2 separate regions of the Homo sapiens genome follow, and region 1 is linked to region 2. The links are contacts of gene promoters, found by promoter capture Hi-C in blood cells and fetal thymus (Javierre and others, 2016). All regions are on one chromosome and are shown on one strand. Each heading gives the region's core, a stretch centred on a gene start or on the middle of the fragment in contact. The rest is flanking DNA. Distances are from core to core; before and after follow the strand shown. Region 1 holds the start of SLC6A3 (solute carrier family 6 member 3). Region 2 holds the start of CLPTM1L (CLPTM1 like).

Evidence for each region. Contacts are between HindIII fragments. The CHiCAGO score rates a contact against its expected background, and 5 or more counts as called.
Region 1: the fragment with the promoter of SLC6A3 here is called in contact with the fragment with the promoter of CLPTM1L in region 2 in 12 of 17 cell types (neutrophils, monocytes, M1 macrophages and 9 more); the score reaches 12.5 in neutrophils.

What each region holds. Positions count from the first base shown.
Region 1 is chr5:1,443,074-1,450,459 of GRCh38, reverse strand. SLC6A3 (solute carrier family 6 member 3) reads left to right here and starts at 5,020. Exons shown (of 15, transcript NM_001044.5): 1 at 5,020-5,112; 2 at 7,218-7,386. The coding sequence starts at 7,263. RefSeq lists an enhancer at 3,883-4,382. The HindIII fragment of the contact is 13,596 bases long and covers 515-7,386 here.
Region 2 is chr5:1,342,783-1,350,096 of GRCh38, reverse strand. CLPTM1L (CLPTM1 like) reads left to right here and starts at 4,998. Exons shown (of 17, transcript NM_030782.5): 1 at 4,998-5,417; 2 at 5,646-5,746. The coding sequence starts at 5,256. The HindIII fragment of the contact is 23,624 bases long and covers 1-7,314 here.

The DNA.
Region 1 (7,386 bases), core at 3,771-6,270, 100 kb before region 2:
TTGAATCTGTATGTCAATTTATGAAGAACTGACATCTCATTAATATTGAGCCTTTCAGTCATAAACATACACACTCCTCTGCTTGTCTAGACTTTCAAAAGTTTCTCACAGCAATGGATTCTAGGTTTTCGGTGCACAAGTCTCGGATACGGTTTATCCCCAAGCATTTTGTTTCGGATGCTATTGTAAGTGAAATTATTTTAGGTTTTATTTTAGAATTGTTTGCTGCCAGTACATAGAAATACAATTGGTTTTCATCAGATCCCATGGCCTTGCTAAATTCATTTATAAATTCTAGTAGTTTTTTTTGTAAATTCCTCAAGATTTTCTACAAACATGAAATCTACCAAGAAAAATCTTGTCATCAATATTTCAATTTTTTTGAAGCCTCCTGCTCTGTAGCCAGACCATTCGCCACTGCCTATGACTACATTTAGGGCCATCCTCTGGCCATCCCTCCTTGGCTAGATGATGAACCTGATGCATGGTTTGAATATGTGCCCACTGGGAAGCTTTCTTTCACTGGTCTTTCACAGAAGGCCATGATGACACAGCCTTTCACTTTCTGGTGGGGGCAGTGTGCTGTGTATAGACACATGTAATCCAGGCCCCAACGCATGCATTTTCTCCGTTCAATGTCATAAGAAACTCTCATGTAGCCAGAGGTCTGGGTTAAGGAAGCGGTCTCCATGCAGCAAGAGTGGGTGCTTGTTCATGGAACTTACCGCGCCTTCCAGACCTGCTCAAGCCTTGTGTCGTAAACATTCCACCTGAGGACGGCAGGATGCTGTCTACACAACCTCTGTGGGTCCGATAACAAATAGCTTCTGCTGGGCCGCTCAGCTTCTATGGTAACAGAGCTCCCTGAGTTTCTGCTATGGCTCAGGGCTGCTCTTACTCAAAAGGAGAGGACGTATTTTCAGGAGAGCGTTCAGCTCTTATTCAACTGTTATTTTCTGCGCTGCCTACAACATCTCCGTCTGCCACAGACCCTCCAATTCCCACTGGTTCTGCCAGATCAGTGTTCTCAAAGTGTGGTTCCTGGGCCAGCAGTGTCAGTGTCACCTGAGAACTTTCTAGAAACGCAGGTCCTCAGGTCCCACCTCAGACCTACTGAACCTGCGTCTCTAAGGATGGAGCGAGGTGATCTGTGCCTCCTATGCATGTAAAGGTTTATGTAGGTGACTGTGATGCCAGCTAAAGTCGGAGAACAACACCAGATTGTGTGGCCTCCTGGGGCAGCAGTTTGCCCATCCAGACCAGCAGCAGAATCTTTCTTACTCTGGGCCCTACTCAAAACCAAACGCTTTATGAAGAACACAAAACAGGCCAGAGAAGCATCCCCGAGTGTCTTGCACCTCACCTTGCAAACCGGAAGAGCCTCACCAGGTATGATACTTCTTTCTTAGTGGTAGTCTTGCTTGCCAGAGACAGCGTGTTTTCTTTCATTTTGGATATATATTTTGACCAATCAGACCAATGGACCCACAGAAAGTTCACCAAGGTGGCAGGTTTTGAAAATGTGTTATTTTCTCTTTCAATTTTTAGCAAGCACGTGTCTTACCAAGGCATCTTGGCATTTTTCATTTTTTGCTCCCCAGGTTGATTCAGCCTGATGTCATCAGTGTGGCAGACCACTGTGACATGCTGTGCAGTGGCAAGACCATCAAGATGTCTGTGACTAAAACCAGCAGTGAGCCGGAAAATGATACAGCTCTGAGAGAAGACATTGGAAGTGTACTGCTGTCCCTGCCATGCGAGAGGAAACTATCTTCCTCCTGAGGTGGCCCCCGGGGAGGGCACAGGGGTGCAGCAGTGAGCAGGGCCTCCTGCCTGGAGCCAGCGCCTTCCATCATTCTCAGAACCTGGACAGACAAGGTCTGGGATCTGACCTCCCACACCCCTGGACAAAAGCCACTCCTGCCTACTGGTCCCCTCACCCTTGCCCTCCCCAAGCCCCCTACCCCCAGGGCCTTCCCAGCACCAGTGAGAGGTCAGGGTCTTTAAAGTCTGAGCTGGGCTCCCTGGGACTTCCTCTGAAAGCACACAGGACACCCTCAATATAGTAAATACGCAGGCAGGTAAATGACTGTCATCTCACTGCCACTGTCCTTGTCCCCTCTCAGATACAGCACTCATGGGGGGAGCATCCACGCTGTCTTCCAAATCAGGCGAGACACGGCGCAACATCCAGCACTGAGGGCCTCCCAGGAGGCAGCACCCAAGGAGGGGGGGACCCGTGGGGCAAGGTTGCTTTGGAGACAGCAGTCAGTGGCCAGGGGCTCCTTGTGGGCTCTGCAGCTGCGGTCCCAGCCAGTGGGGAGAGGTGCCGAGCATGGGCAGGAAGTGCAGAGGCAGGGGGGCTCCACCTGCCTGCACCCAACGCCCTGAGCCCACAGCAGCCATAGCAGCAACCACAATGATAATAAAGCCGACTTGGCATTTAGGGCAAAGTTCCAAGCATGCAAAGGTCGGCCGTTTGATCAGGTCTGATCAGCTCATAACCACACTGCTTCTACCTGCACAGTTCACGGAGCATTCCTGTTGTGGGAGGATGGAGACCCATGGGTCTGGCAGCTGCGCTTTCTCTGTGTCATCCATGAGCCCAACTCCCGCAGTTAGTTTGTTCTTAGAGCACCCAAAGCTCCTTTATCCTAATTCATGTGGTTGGAAGTCGGGGTTGAGGCAGGGGTGGAGGAATGCTCTTTGTCTTGGCAGAGTGCAGGTTACATGCGTGTGATCACTCAGTGGCCCCTCCTGAGTGTGGCAGGTGCATTCTCTGTGTGCTACTGGTCAGTAAGGATGTGGCTGCCTGGATCTGTGTGACCTCTAGTCCCTGCACCTTCCTGCCTGTACCCTGTTAGCTTTGGGTCACAATTCTGCGCTCCTGCAGCGCTTGCAATCCCTTCCCAAACGCTGTTTGCCTGTGTGTTGTTTTGTTTCGAGACAGGGTCTCATCCTGTGGCCCATGGCGCAATCTCAGCTCACTACAACCTCCACCTCCCAGCTTCAAGCTATTCTCCCACCTCTGCCTCCCCAGTAGCTGGGACTACAGGTGTGGGCCACCATGCCTGGCTAATTTTTTTTTTCAAAGTCAGGGTTTTGCCATGTGGCCCAGGCTGGTCTCAAACTCCTGGCCTCAAGAGATCCTCCTTCCTCGGCCTCCCAGAGTGCTGGGATTACAAGCGTGAGCCCTCACTCCTGGCCTGTGTATTTTTAATATACCTGAACATCCATTCTCTCTGTGTGTTTTATTTAACAGCCTCCCTTAGTCACCTGCAAAGTCTTTTCCTTGGGAGACTGTTTCCTCAACCCTGCTGCTCTGGGGCCAAGCCCTGGCTCACTCCTTTTTATTGAAACCTGTGCCATGGAGATAATAGGGGTAGAGAGATCCCTTCTGTGGCAGCCACTGACACACTACAGCTTCGAGGTGGCACATCCCCCTCTCCTGAAGTCCCCTCACCTCCCTGGCGATGAAGTCCCACCCCTGATGGGAGGTGGTGTCAGGAGGCCTTCAGGTGGTCAGGCCAGGAGGGCTCCACCCTGAGGAATGGGACCAGTGCCCTCATAAAACAGACCCCGGAGAGCTCTCCCCAGCCCCTAGCGTGGGGAGATACAGGGAGAGAACTGTCTGCAACCCCGAAGCGGCCCTCACCAGACACAGAGTCGGCCAGGCCTTGGCCTCGGGACACCGGAACCGTTAGAACTGAAGGCTTCTGTGTGAGCCCCCAGGCTGTGGAGTTTTTTGTCATGGCAGCCCCAGGGGGTCACTAGGCTCCCACTTGATTCCAACTCAGCGTGAAGTCACAGCCCTGAGTGCCTTCTGCCTGGGTGCCAGCCCCGGAGCCGGGGAGCGGGGGAGCGGGGGGCGGGGAGGGGAGTGGTGGTGTGCGGGGAGTGCGGGGCGGGCGCAGGGGGTGGGGCACCGCGCTGCGGGCGGGTACTGCGGAGTCAGGCACCAAGGGTCCCTGCCTCCCTCACTGCTGAGCGCGGGCTGCAGGCTGGAATGGCTGGAGAGCCCCAGGGCTCGCCTGGACGCCCAGGGCAGGGTGCTCACGGGAGCATCGAGGGTACACGGGGAGGAACGCCGGGGTTCGGGCGACCCTAGGGGCGACGCACAGAGCTGGGCGCGGCCACTCACCTCGGTGCCTTCTAAGGACCTGGACATCCTGGGCCTTGGCGGCCTGGGGGCTCCATTCCTCCGCGCGCTGAATGGAAGAAATCCCGCCCGGGCATCTCGGAAGGAAAGCCTCGGAGTCCATTCGGCCCTGGAGCCGGATACCAACCGCCAGGGCTTTCCAGGCCCGTCCCGGGAAATGGTTTTCTTAGGCGAGTGCGAGGCGGGCCCCTCGGTTCCGATGCAGGCGCACTAGATGCCGGCAAGGCGGGGACTAGGCCTAGGGGACCTCGGTCGCCTCGAGGTCGCGGAGACCCCAAGGCCACGGAAGGACCCGCGTCTCCGCAGCCCGCACGCCGGGAAGCGTGCAGAGTCCTCGGCGGGGTCCCGAGCCCGCTGGTCAGAGCGTGGAGCGGCGGGGTGGGAGGGACGTGGTCCCCAGAGCGCGGGGCCACCGTAGGGGCCCCTGATGGGGAGGGAGGGAAGGGTCGGCCCGACGGGGTCCCAGCAGTTCCCCGCGCGCAGCCGCTCGGCTCCCTCCCCGTCCAGCTGGGAGCCGCCAGCCCTGGGCGTCCGAAGATAGCGGGTGCCCGGGGCAGCCCCCAGGGGTGCGGGCGAGGGCGCAGGGCGGCCCAGACAGTTCCCGCGTGGAAGGCGCCCGTCTAGATCCGCGACGTCTCGGACCCCCAGGCCCCCGCACCCCGTGTCCGAGGCTCCGGGACGCGCAGGACAGTGGAGCCGTGGCCGCCGCTTGCTCCCAGCCATCTGCGTCCGGGAGGCGGGGGCGGGGGCGCGGCCCGGGGAGGTGAGGAGGAGGAGCCAGGACGCGAGGGCGACCCCGTCGGCGGGAGGGCGGGGCGGGGCGGACCCTGTCTACTGGATAAGAGCCCGAGGCCGAGGCTGAGACCGCCCAGCGCTGCGGAGCGGGAGGGGAGGCTTCGCGGAACGCTCTCGGCGCCAGGACTCGCGTGCAAAGCCCAGGCCCGGGCGGCCAGGTGAGGCCAGCGTCGCTCGCGGCATCGGGGCGCCCCGCTCCTTCCGCAGACCCCGAAGTGGGGCGCAGGGGCGGGGGCCGGGGACCGGGCACAGTCTGGGGTCCCCGCGTCCCGCAGACCGCGCCGTCTCCAAAGTCGCCAACAGTCGCGGGTGCCGAGCGCCCCCCGATAGCGCCACATGGGACCCTGAGGCCGTCCGAGGCGCGAGGAGGGTGCAGGGCTGCCCCTGGCCCCGCTCCAGGCTCAGAACCGGGTGGGCACCTGGTGCAGTCACCGGCTTAGGGGACGCGTGGGTGTCTATGGCTGTGACTCGGGGGTCCTGGTTTCTTCTCGTGGAACTTAACCCTACTAGGGGTGCGGCGCATCCCAGATCCGATCGGAGTGGGTTTTGTACACCGCCGCTCCATCTCGCGGGGGCTTTGTCTGTGTTGGGGGTGGTGGCGGGCGCGGGCTGCGCGCTGGTGCTCTGGGCAGGGCGGGGAGGCCGGGCGAGGACTCGCCAGGCAGCGCCGCTTCTTGTTCTGGGCGCGGTGAGGAAGGACGCTTTCTAACGGGCCACATTTTGCTGTGTAGACCCAAAACTCGCCTCTGAGGCCCCGCGTTCAGGAGCGGGGTCAGGTGGCCCCAGGGCGGCGGCGGCTTGCCGGAGACTCGCGAGCTCCGCACCCGACGCCCTCTCCCAACGCGGCCTCCTGCTCGCGCCGCGGAACCCCTTCGTCGGGTGTTTTACCCACCGGAGGGGTCGTGCCGGTTGAGGTTGTCACCGGGTGCGTGGCATAGCTCGTGATAGCTCATGGGTGAGGTTTTGTGCAAACTTGGATGCAGGGAAAGTTGCCTGTTAGAGCCTCCACCTGCGACCTGCTTCAGTCGTTGTGTGTGTGTGCGCACCTGTGTGAGTGTGAGTGTGTATGTGTGTAAGTGTATGTGCTCGCCTGTGTGTGTGTGAGTGTGTATGTGTGTTTGTGAGTCTGTGTGTGTCTGTGTGTCTGTGTGTGCGTGCGCTCGACTGAAACACGCTGCTGCTGGATCCAAATGACAGAAGTCGCCCTGGCTGGGGCGGTGTAGACGCTCCTGCTCTCCTGCTCAGCGTTGCAGGGGGGTTTATGTAGCCGTTTGGACAGGATTTCCCGGGTTACCCTGCTGGCCCAGGAGCTAGTTCCCGCGATGAAGCCCTGTCCATCCTCCGCCCAGCTCTCTCACGCGGGGTGGTGCCACCTGCCCTAGGTGGATGTGGCTTGTACAGACACTTTTTGAGGAAGCAGTTGTGATGGTTATGTCTAAACTCTCTTTACAGTGGCTGATTTTGCTTATATAAATTTTGCTCTTTATTACTGAGTATAAACAATACAAGCCCAGGCTTGGTGGCTCATGCCTGTCATCTCAGCACTTTGGGAGGCTGAGGCAGGAGGATCGCTTGAGACCAGGAGTTCAAAACCAGCCTTGGCAACAATAGTCAGACCCTGTCTCTACAAAAAAACAACAACAACAACAAAAAAACACACACAAAAATAACTTAGCCGGTGCTGTGGTGCACACCTGTAGTCTCAGCTGCTCAGGAGGCTGAGGTGCAAGGATCACTTGAACCTAGGAGGTTGAGGCAGTGAGTTGTAATCACAACTGTATTCCATCCTGGGTGACAGAGCGAGACCTCATGTTAAAAAAGAAAAAAAAAAGAAAAAAGAATACAGATGAACAGTCATGAAGACATTATTGAATGCTCTTAGAAGATTGTAAAATTGCTCTCTGGAAGTGTGGGGGAAGGTGGAAGTGATATCCATGCATTGTTAGTAGAAAGCCACGCTAGAGCTCACACAGCCTTGCACTTTGATAGGAGTGGGGAGGGGTGCAGGGGAAGGAGGAGCAAACCAGAGTGTCTGTCTTGAGGCCTCCATGGGCCAGTGCCCCAGCCCTGTGGTGAGGGCTGGCACTTCCCAGCTCCCGTGCCCCAGCTGTACCATCTCAGGCGCTGAGAACGCACCCATCCCTTCCCAGAGGAATGCCCGTGAATGCCTCGGGGCTCTGCCCTCCGCACCAGGTATGTCCCTAGCCCTGGCTGCTGAATTGTTGCGTTCCTGTTGTGTGTTTATTTTTCATATTGGCTGAAGACCAAGAGGGAAGAAGCACAGAATTCCTCAACTCCCAGTGTGCCCATGAGTAAGAGCAAATGCTCCGTGGGACTCATGTCTTCCGTGGTGGCCCCGGCTAAGGAGCCCAATGCCGTGGGCCCGAAGGAGGTGGAGCTCATCCTTGTCAAGGAGCAGAACGGAGTGCAGC
Region 2 (7,314 bases), core at 3,749-6,248:
AGTTCCTGGGATCATAACAAGAGTCCATTCTGCTTGGGGCTTACCACAAATGAAGTAAAGACAGGCCCTTGGGGAAAGGTTGGGCAGACTGAGCCCCACATGAGCGGGGCAGGAGATGGGCCCGCGCCCCAACAGAAATGTCAGGTGATCATCAGGTGATGGTCAAGCTGTTGTTAAACTGTCTAAAATAATTATTGGTTGCAGCTGGTGCCAGAGAAAGGCAGGCTCCCAATAGATAGAAAACACCTAAAGCTGATGATGAGCCACTTCCCGATAAGATCCCAGGAGTTGGCACAGGTGGGAATTGAACAATGAGAACACTTGGACACAGTGCGGGCAACATCACACACCAGGGCCTGTCGTGGGGTGGGAAGGATAGCATTAGGAGAAATACCTAATGTAAATGACGAGTTAATGGATGCAGCAAACCAACATGGCACATGCATACCTATGTAACAAACCTGCACGTTGTGTACATGTACCCTAGAACTTAAATTAAAAAATTTAAAAAAAATCTCAGGAGTTGGTGAGTGAGGTCAAGCATGCACACTACGAGGCAAAGTGGCAAAGTTTAACCAGCGTGTGACCTTCCCCTAGGAACTGGTAAGGGAAGACTGCCTCAAGAGGGCACCGCACAACTCCAGTAAGCACACTGTGCACGCGGCCCTCCCAAGTGTCGGCAGGCCACTGCGCATGCGGACAGCCCACCCCAAGGGAAGAATCAGGGGAGAAGGGACGCAGCCCCCAGAAGCATGCCAAGATATAAACCCCAAGTCAAAGGTCAAAACCGTGTACTTGCTCTCTCAAGATGCCCACCTGGCCCTCCTCCAAGTGTACTTTATTTCCTTTCGTTCCTGCTCTAACACTTTTTTAATAAACTTTCACTCTTGCTCTGAAACTTACCTCAGTCTCTGACCCTGCCTTGTGCCCCCTGGATGAATTATTTCCTCTGAGGAGGCAAAAGCTAAGTTGCTGCAGACTTATATGGATTTGCTGCTGCTGACACCAGGAGGTGGCGTTCTGGGCTCCCTGTGGCCCTGGAGAGTAGCAGCCTCCCCTCTTTCTCCAGGAGCCCACCCCCCCCACTAGGAAAGGGCAGCAGGCACTCAGCTCGTTACAGCCCATGCCATCGATACCTGTGTGTGCATGAGCCCCAGTCTCACCCAGGGCCCTAGGAATGAGCCACGGCCTCCCTCTGGCACGAACGGTTAGCCTTTGGGAAACCCTCAACAGATGCCCACATTCAACTGGCAAGATTCTCAAACACCGGCCCACAAGCCAGCACCTGGAGGGCTGCTCATGCACATGGTGGCACTTATCAATAACTTTTCAGTGATGGAAAAATCTTATCAATAACTTTTCGATGATGGAAAGATGTTCTTGGGTGGGCTAGGAAGTCCTGTAAGAGCTGTGTCCTTGCAAGAGGAGAGCCAGCAGCCAGGCACGGTGTGACACCTTGGGCCTAGATGTCCCTGCCCCTGACCTGCTAGAAAGCTGACTGGTCTGCCACAGAACGCTTCTGCTTTGCCTCCAGGAAAAGGCCTTGTTATCTGCGAACTCCCAGAGGCACCCATCGCAGGATACCCAGCTTTGCCTGAGGGCTCTTGTCCCTGCTTTCCTATAAATATCTGCACCTGGGACAGAATTTAATCCAGATCAAAACTCAGTCTGAGACTTGCTTTCCTAGAACTACAACCCCAGGGGCAGGTAGCGTGGGCAGAGACAGAGTCCCACCTCGCCCTGCCGACACAACATCTGTTGAATGAGACCAAATGTGGGTTTGTGGCCCTTCATCCATAAATCCTGCAGATGTGCCAGGCCCGGTGGCTCACGCCTGTAATCCCAGCACTTTGGGAGGCCGAGGCGGGCGGATCACAAGGTCAGGAGATCGAGACCATCCTGGCTAACACGGTGAAACCCCGTCTCTACTAAAAATACAAAAAATTAGCTGGGCGTCGTGGCGGGCGCCTGTGGTCCCAGTTACTCTGGAGGCTGAGGCACGAGAATGGCGTGAACCCAGGAGGCGGAGCTTGCAGCGAGCTGAGATCGCACCACTCCACTCCAGCCTGGGCAACAGAGCGAGACTCTGTCTCAAAAAAAAAAAAAAAAAAAAAAAAATCCTGCAGATGTTAGAATGCGCGGAAGAGAGAGAAACCCAAAGTGTGAATGAATACAGAGAGGCAGGAGATCCAACACCTTCCTCCCCAGGAAAGCCCGGGCACGAGGTCCCCGAGCTGAGCTGAGCCTGGGGGCTGGCTCCAGTCTCAGGACCGCCCACAGCCCTCACAGCAGGGTGTGTCCACATTCAGATGCCCTCCTCTCTCCCTCCATCCCCCTCCCAAGGCTGCATCGGCAGCTGTGGCCTCATAGGGAGAGGTGTGGTTTGGGGGTGATTTCCTATTTCCTTCGTGTCTGACCACTGCCCGAGGGCCTCACAAAGGAACCGAATCTTTTGGAGCCTGCATTTCCTGTCATCCTGAGTGGCCTTTGGAGTCCTCAATGTATAAGGACAGCAAGGGCCAGCTGTTCATGTTAGCTTTCTGGAACATTCCAGGCACTCCATGTACTAACAGGTTCCTTGCCAGAGGGCCCTCAAATGATGGAATTGATAAAAGCATTATAAAATGTTGATAAATTCTCTAACCATAGACGTGGAGCTCAGTGAGTACGAATGCAAGATGTGACTCCCCCAGGCCTAGAAAGAAAGCCTTAGCTTCAGAGACGTGGGTAACCTTGGCTCTCTACGGGAGTGAGGCCAACAAGGCCAGCAGAACAGGGTCAAGCAGCTCCTGTTGCCCAAGCAGCCACAGCCGCCTGGCCTTCACTGCATCCAGCTGTGCAGTGGCAGAGAGGATGCTGCGTGGGGACAGCAGGAGGAGAGGCCTTCAAGACCCAGGCCAGCTAAGCCTGGGGAGATAGAAGCAGCCACCACGCTGGGGGAGTGTGGACGCAGGAGTTTGAGGAGTTCTGCGGGGTGCTGAATGGGGTCCTCCTCTGGCGCTTTCTTGAGGGAGTTCTGCAATGATCCACATTCTTTCCAGGGACTTTCTTTCAAGTGCTGTCATATGCTGCCGCGGCTTGCCGGCAGCCCAGCCTCAGGCGGTCGGAGTCGGAAGGCGACAGATGCAGGGCTCCCTTTCCTCATCGGTTCTCTCAACAGGGCAGGGGGACGGCCATGAGTGGGCAAATGTGTCCAGACCACTGAAGAACCTCTCATCTGCTCAGCTGGAGAGGCCCTTCCTGTCTCTGTGATCTTTCCCAAGATGGCCAATGTCCTGTACCACCGGCCACCCCTTCCGTTGGTCACTGTGGATGACACTAGGGGTGGACACTGACCAAGGAGGCACCAACCTGATTCCAGCTCCTAGAGCTGGCCAGGTGCCTGACAGGAAAATGAGGCATCTGAAGAACACGGAGAGATGGGGGTAGGGTGGTAGGGAGGGAGGGAGATGAAGCCACACCCCAGAGCTCCTGGGTTTGCAGCTCCTTCCCGAGGCCTGGCTAGGTCCCTGCCTCGGTCCCTGCCTCTGGATGCCGTGAGACAATCCACCCTGGAGAGCCTACCAGTCCCCTTATGTTTGACAGCTGGAGTTGGAATTTGCCTCCCGCAGACCACAGGTCTACAGCCTTCATTCACGTGTCGCACAGACTGTGGCAGGACCAGCACCCGCTGCTGGTGTGGGACGCCTGGCCCTGTAGGGGACCCCAAGAGTGGCTGGAGAGCAGGGCGTGATGCCTCTTGGGCCACCCTGCAAAGGGCTCACGAGCCTCCTGAGGAGGATGCATTTGATCAGGGTAACAGGAGTCAGCAGAGGGCTTTCCAAGGACAGGTTTGCCAAGAAGCGAGAACAGACTGAGGGGGGAACGATAGAGGCACTGGGTGTAGTCAGACACCACTGCAATGGTAGCCGAAAACCGCGCCGTGAGAAGACTCTGTGGGGAGGGTAACTAGGTGCATGAGAGTGAGAGGAGCGAAAAAAGCCTCGGATGGCTCCGAAGCTCCTGGCCCAGCTTCCAGGGGTTGGTGGCCCAGGACCGCCCCTGCACGCGGCCTCGGGTGCCTGCTCCAGGCAGACCTGCTTCTCTGGCCCATTCTCGGCACCAATCACTGTCCCATCCGCCCGTCAGCCAAGTCCTCTGAGTTCTTCCCGGAGCCCAGCACCCTGATGCAATTGTCCCTGCTCTGAAAACCCTCAGCAATCTATTGGGTCTTCAGTAGCATCTACTCTTTCTAGAAATGTCGAACAAGGTTTTTCGATTGTGCTGCACGTGTGGCAGACACAGAAACGGAAACGACCTTCCAGAGAACTGGCCAAAGGACGGGAGCTGCTCCAGTAACTGAAGGGCACAGACTGAGCGCTTCTGATGGAGTCGGGGAGGTCGCCGGCCCATCCACCGGCTGCCCGAGGGCCTCCCACTGACCTCCCCCGGCCGCCCTCCGAGGGGCCTCTGCTGACCTCGCCGTGCTGGGCACGCTCGGCTTTAGCGGGAAGCTGGGGGTCAGGTTCAAGGCTGTGAGGAGCCACTTCAGCCCGGGAATCTGAATTTTTTCTTCAAAAGCGCCTGTCCCCACAATGGGTTTGTACTGGGGAAAAAACCCACACACGGGATGAGGTGCCCGGCTTCTGTGAGGGTTCTGAGCACTTCGTTTTTCTTCCCTTTAGATTCTGACAACTGTGGACTAAAAGGGTTGCAGGCCCAGTGCCGGAATTCCAGTATCACCTTCCACCAGGCTCCTCACACGTCGACATGGCCCCCACTTGGTGGTCTGGCAGGCGTCGGCGGTTGGGGACGGCGCCCCGGGGACCCCGCGGCCCTAGCCTTCCCCGGCGCCCCGCGAACGCCCTCCGCGGCCCCAGCAGCTGAGCGCCTGGGTCCCTGAGAGGCACCCCAGGAGGGCGGCGCGGGCGGGTAACGTCACACACGCGCCGCATCCTGGATGCGCGTGCGCGGCAGCGGCCGAGACTCCGTTTCCCAGGGAGCCGCGCGGCGCGTCCACTTCCGGCAGGCGGCGGGGCCCGGAAGCGGCGCGCGGGGCCGGCGAATCCCGCGGCGCCAGGTGGGAGCGGGGCCGGAGCATGCGGGGCGGCCGGCGGTCTGCGGCGCGCGGCGCATTCGTTCCCCCGCGGCGGTGGCGGTGGCGCGCGGCGGCTCTCCAGTGAGCGGCGGAGCCCGGAGCGGCGGGCTGGGCGCCGGGCGGGCGGGGCTCGCGGCTGAGAGGCGGGCGGGCCGGGGGCGCCGGGCGCGGGGCCGCCATGTGGAGCGGCCGCAGCTCCTTCACCAGCTTGGTGGTGGGCGTGTTCGTGGTCTACGTGGTGCACACCTGCTGGGTCATGTACGGCATCGTCTACACCCGCCCGTGCTCCGGCGACGCCAACTGCATCCAGCCCTACCTGGCGCGGCGGCCCAAGCTGCAGGTGAGCGTCCGCGGGGCCGGGGGCCGGGCGGGTTGGGGTGGGGGCCTCTCCTCCAGGCCCCAGACGTCGCCTTCCCGTCCCAGTTCGGAGCTGTGGCCGCGCGAGTCGAGATGGAACCTTTCCTGGTTCCCCAGCGGCCAGGTCTTCCGCCCTCCAGCTGGCCGTGGGATTTGAGTGCGTCCTGCCAGGGCCTGGCCGAGCTGACTCTCGACGCCCCCTCCTTTCCAGCTGAGCGTGTACACCACGACGAGGTCCCACCTGGGTGCTGAGAACAACATCGACCTGGTCTTGAATGTGGAAGACTTTGATGTGGAGTCCAAATTTGAAAGGTATGGGCGTAGGACAAAATGCCAGTGAAAGGGAAAACATTACTCATGTTCAGATTGTTTAAAAGTTAGCTTTCTGTACATAACATGTTTATTTTAGAGAACTAGTCTTACCGAATGTCTTGAAGTGGTAGAATATCCTAACTGGAGGCCTATGCGTGGCCTGTAAACATTCAGCCTGGAAGGTGACAGGTGATGAATGTCGTTTAAGAAGTAGTTCTCAGCAGAGTGTGATGGCAGTGGGATGTCCTGGACGGGGAGGCTCCGAAGGAGCAGGGGCCACGCTTGGTGAACCAGTGGAGAGCAGACAACTCTGCAGTTTCACTACCGGGGACCAACTTGTCTTTTCCTGGTGGAAGTAGTTCGCTTAAGTTACTTGTGAGGGAAAAGAGATGAGGATAGAGGAAGCAATTTTGTAGAAAATCATAAATAAGTGACATGTGACGTTAGAATAGATCAATGTCCAAATATGTAGAGTATCTTAAAAATTACATCTGACATGGCCTAATTTTTTTTAATTGAATAAGTATACTTTTAAATATGATTTGCTTCTCACAAGTCAACCATTTCCCTTCATTGCCTGGGAGGTATCTGAGGAGAGAATAATGAAAGTTTGAGACTCATGCTGGACTCCACGCCCTCTAGGCAGCCAGTCCCTGGGGGTAGCTGGAGGCGCTGGCAAGCCGGTTTCTGCCTGGCCTCTTTAGGCCTGTGACCTCAAGCCAGTTCCTGCCCTCTCTCTGCCTCCATGAAGGGGAGGCCAGAAGTGCTGGTGACCAAGCTGCCCGCTCGGTTGTAGCTGCCCACACCTTTCAAAAATGCTCAGGATTCATCTGCACTGGGTTTAATTTCCCAGACATGAATACTGCCTCTTCCGTGCCGGGCCGTGTACCAGTTACCAAGGACAGCTAGTGAGGTTTTCCATTTGACCTGGCACAGTGTCAGCCTGGAGGAAGTGGGGAGAATGAGCACTCTTAACACAGCTCCGCCTCAAGTGTCTCCAAGTGCACATTCCACCAGAAATACACAGCCCTGCACCCTCTGCCTGAAGAGAGACACTTAAGATGTCCTGGTGGAGACATACTCTTTCCTGGGTAGTGAGGAGCCATAGATGCCTTTGTGTTTTTCATTACAACTTTGGCCGTAAGATTTTTTTTTTTTTTTGAGATAGAGTCTTGCTCTGTTGCCAGGCTGGAGTGCAGTGGCGTGATCTCTGCTCACTGCAACCTCCGGTTCCCGGGTTCAAGGGATTCTCCTGCCTTAGCCTCCAAAGTAGCTGAGACTACAGGCACCCGCCACCACGCCTGGCTAATTTTTTTATTTTTAGTAGAGACAGGGTTTCACCATGTTGGCTGGGCTGGTCTGAAACTCCTGACCTCGTGATCTGCCCGGCTCGGCCTCCCAAGGTGCTGGGATTACAGGCGTGAGCCGCCGCACCCGGCCAACCGTAAGATTTTTAAGGAGAGGCCGGGCACAGTGACTCATGCCTATAATCCCAGCAGTTTGGGAGGCCAAGGCGGGAGGATCACTTGAGCCCAGCAGTTCAAGACCAGCCTAGGCAATGTGACAAA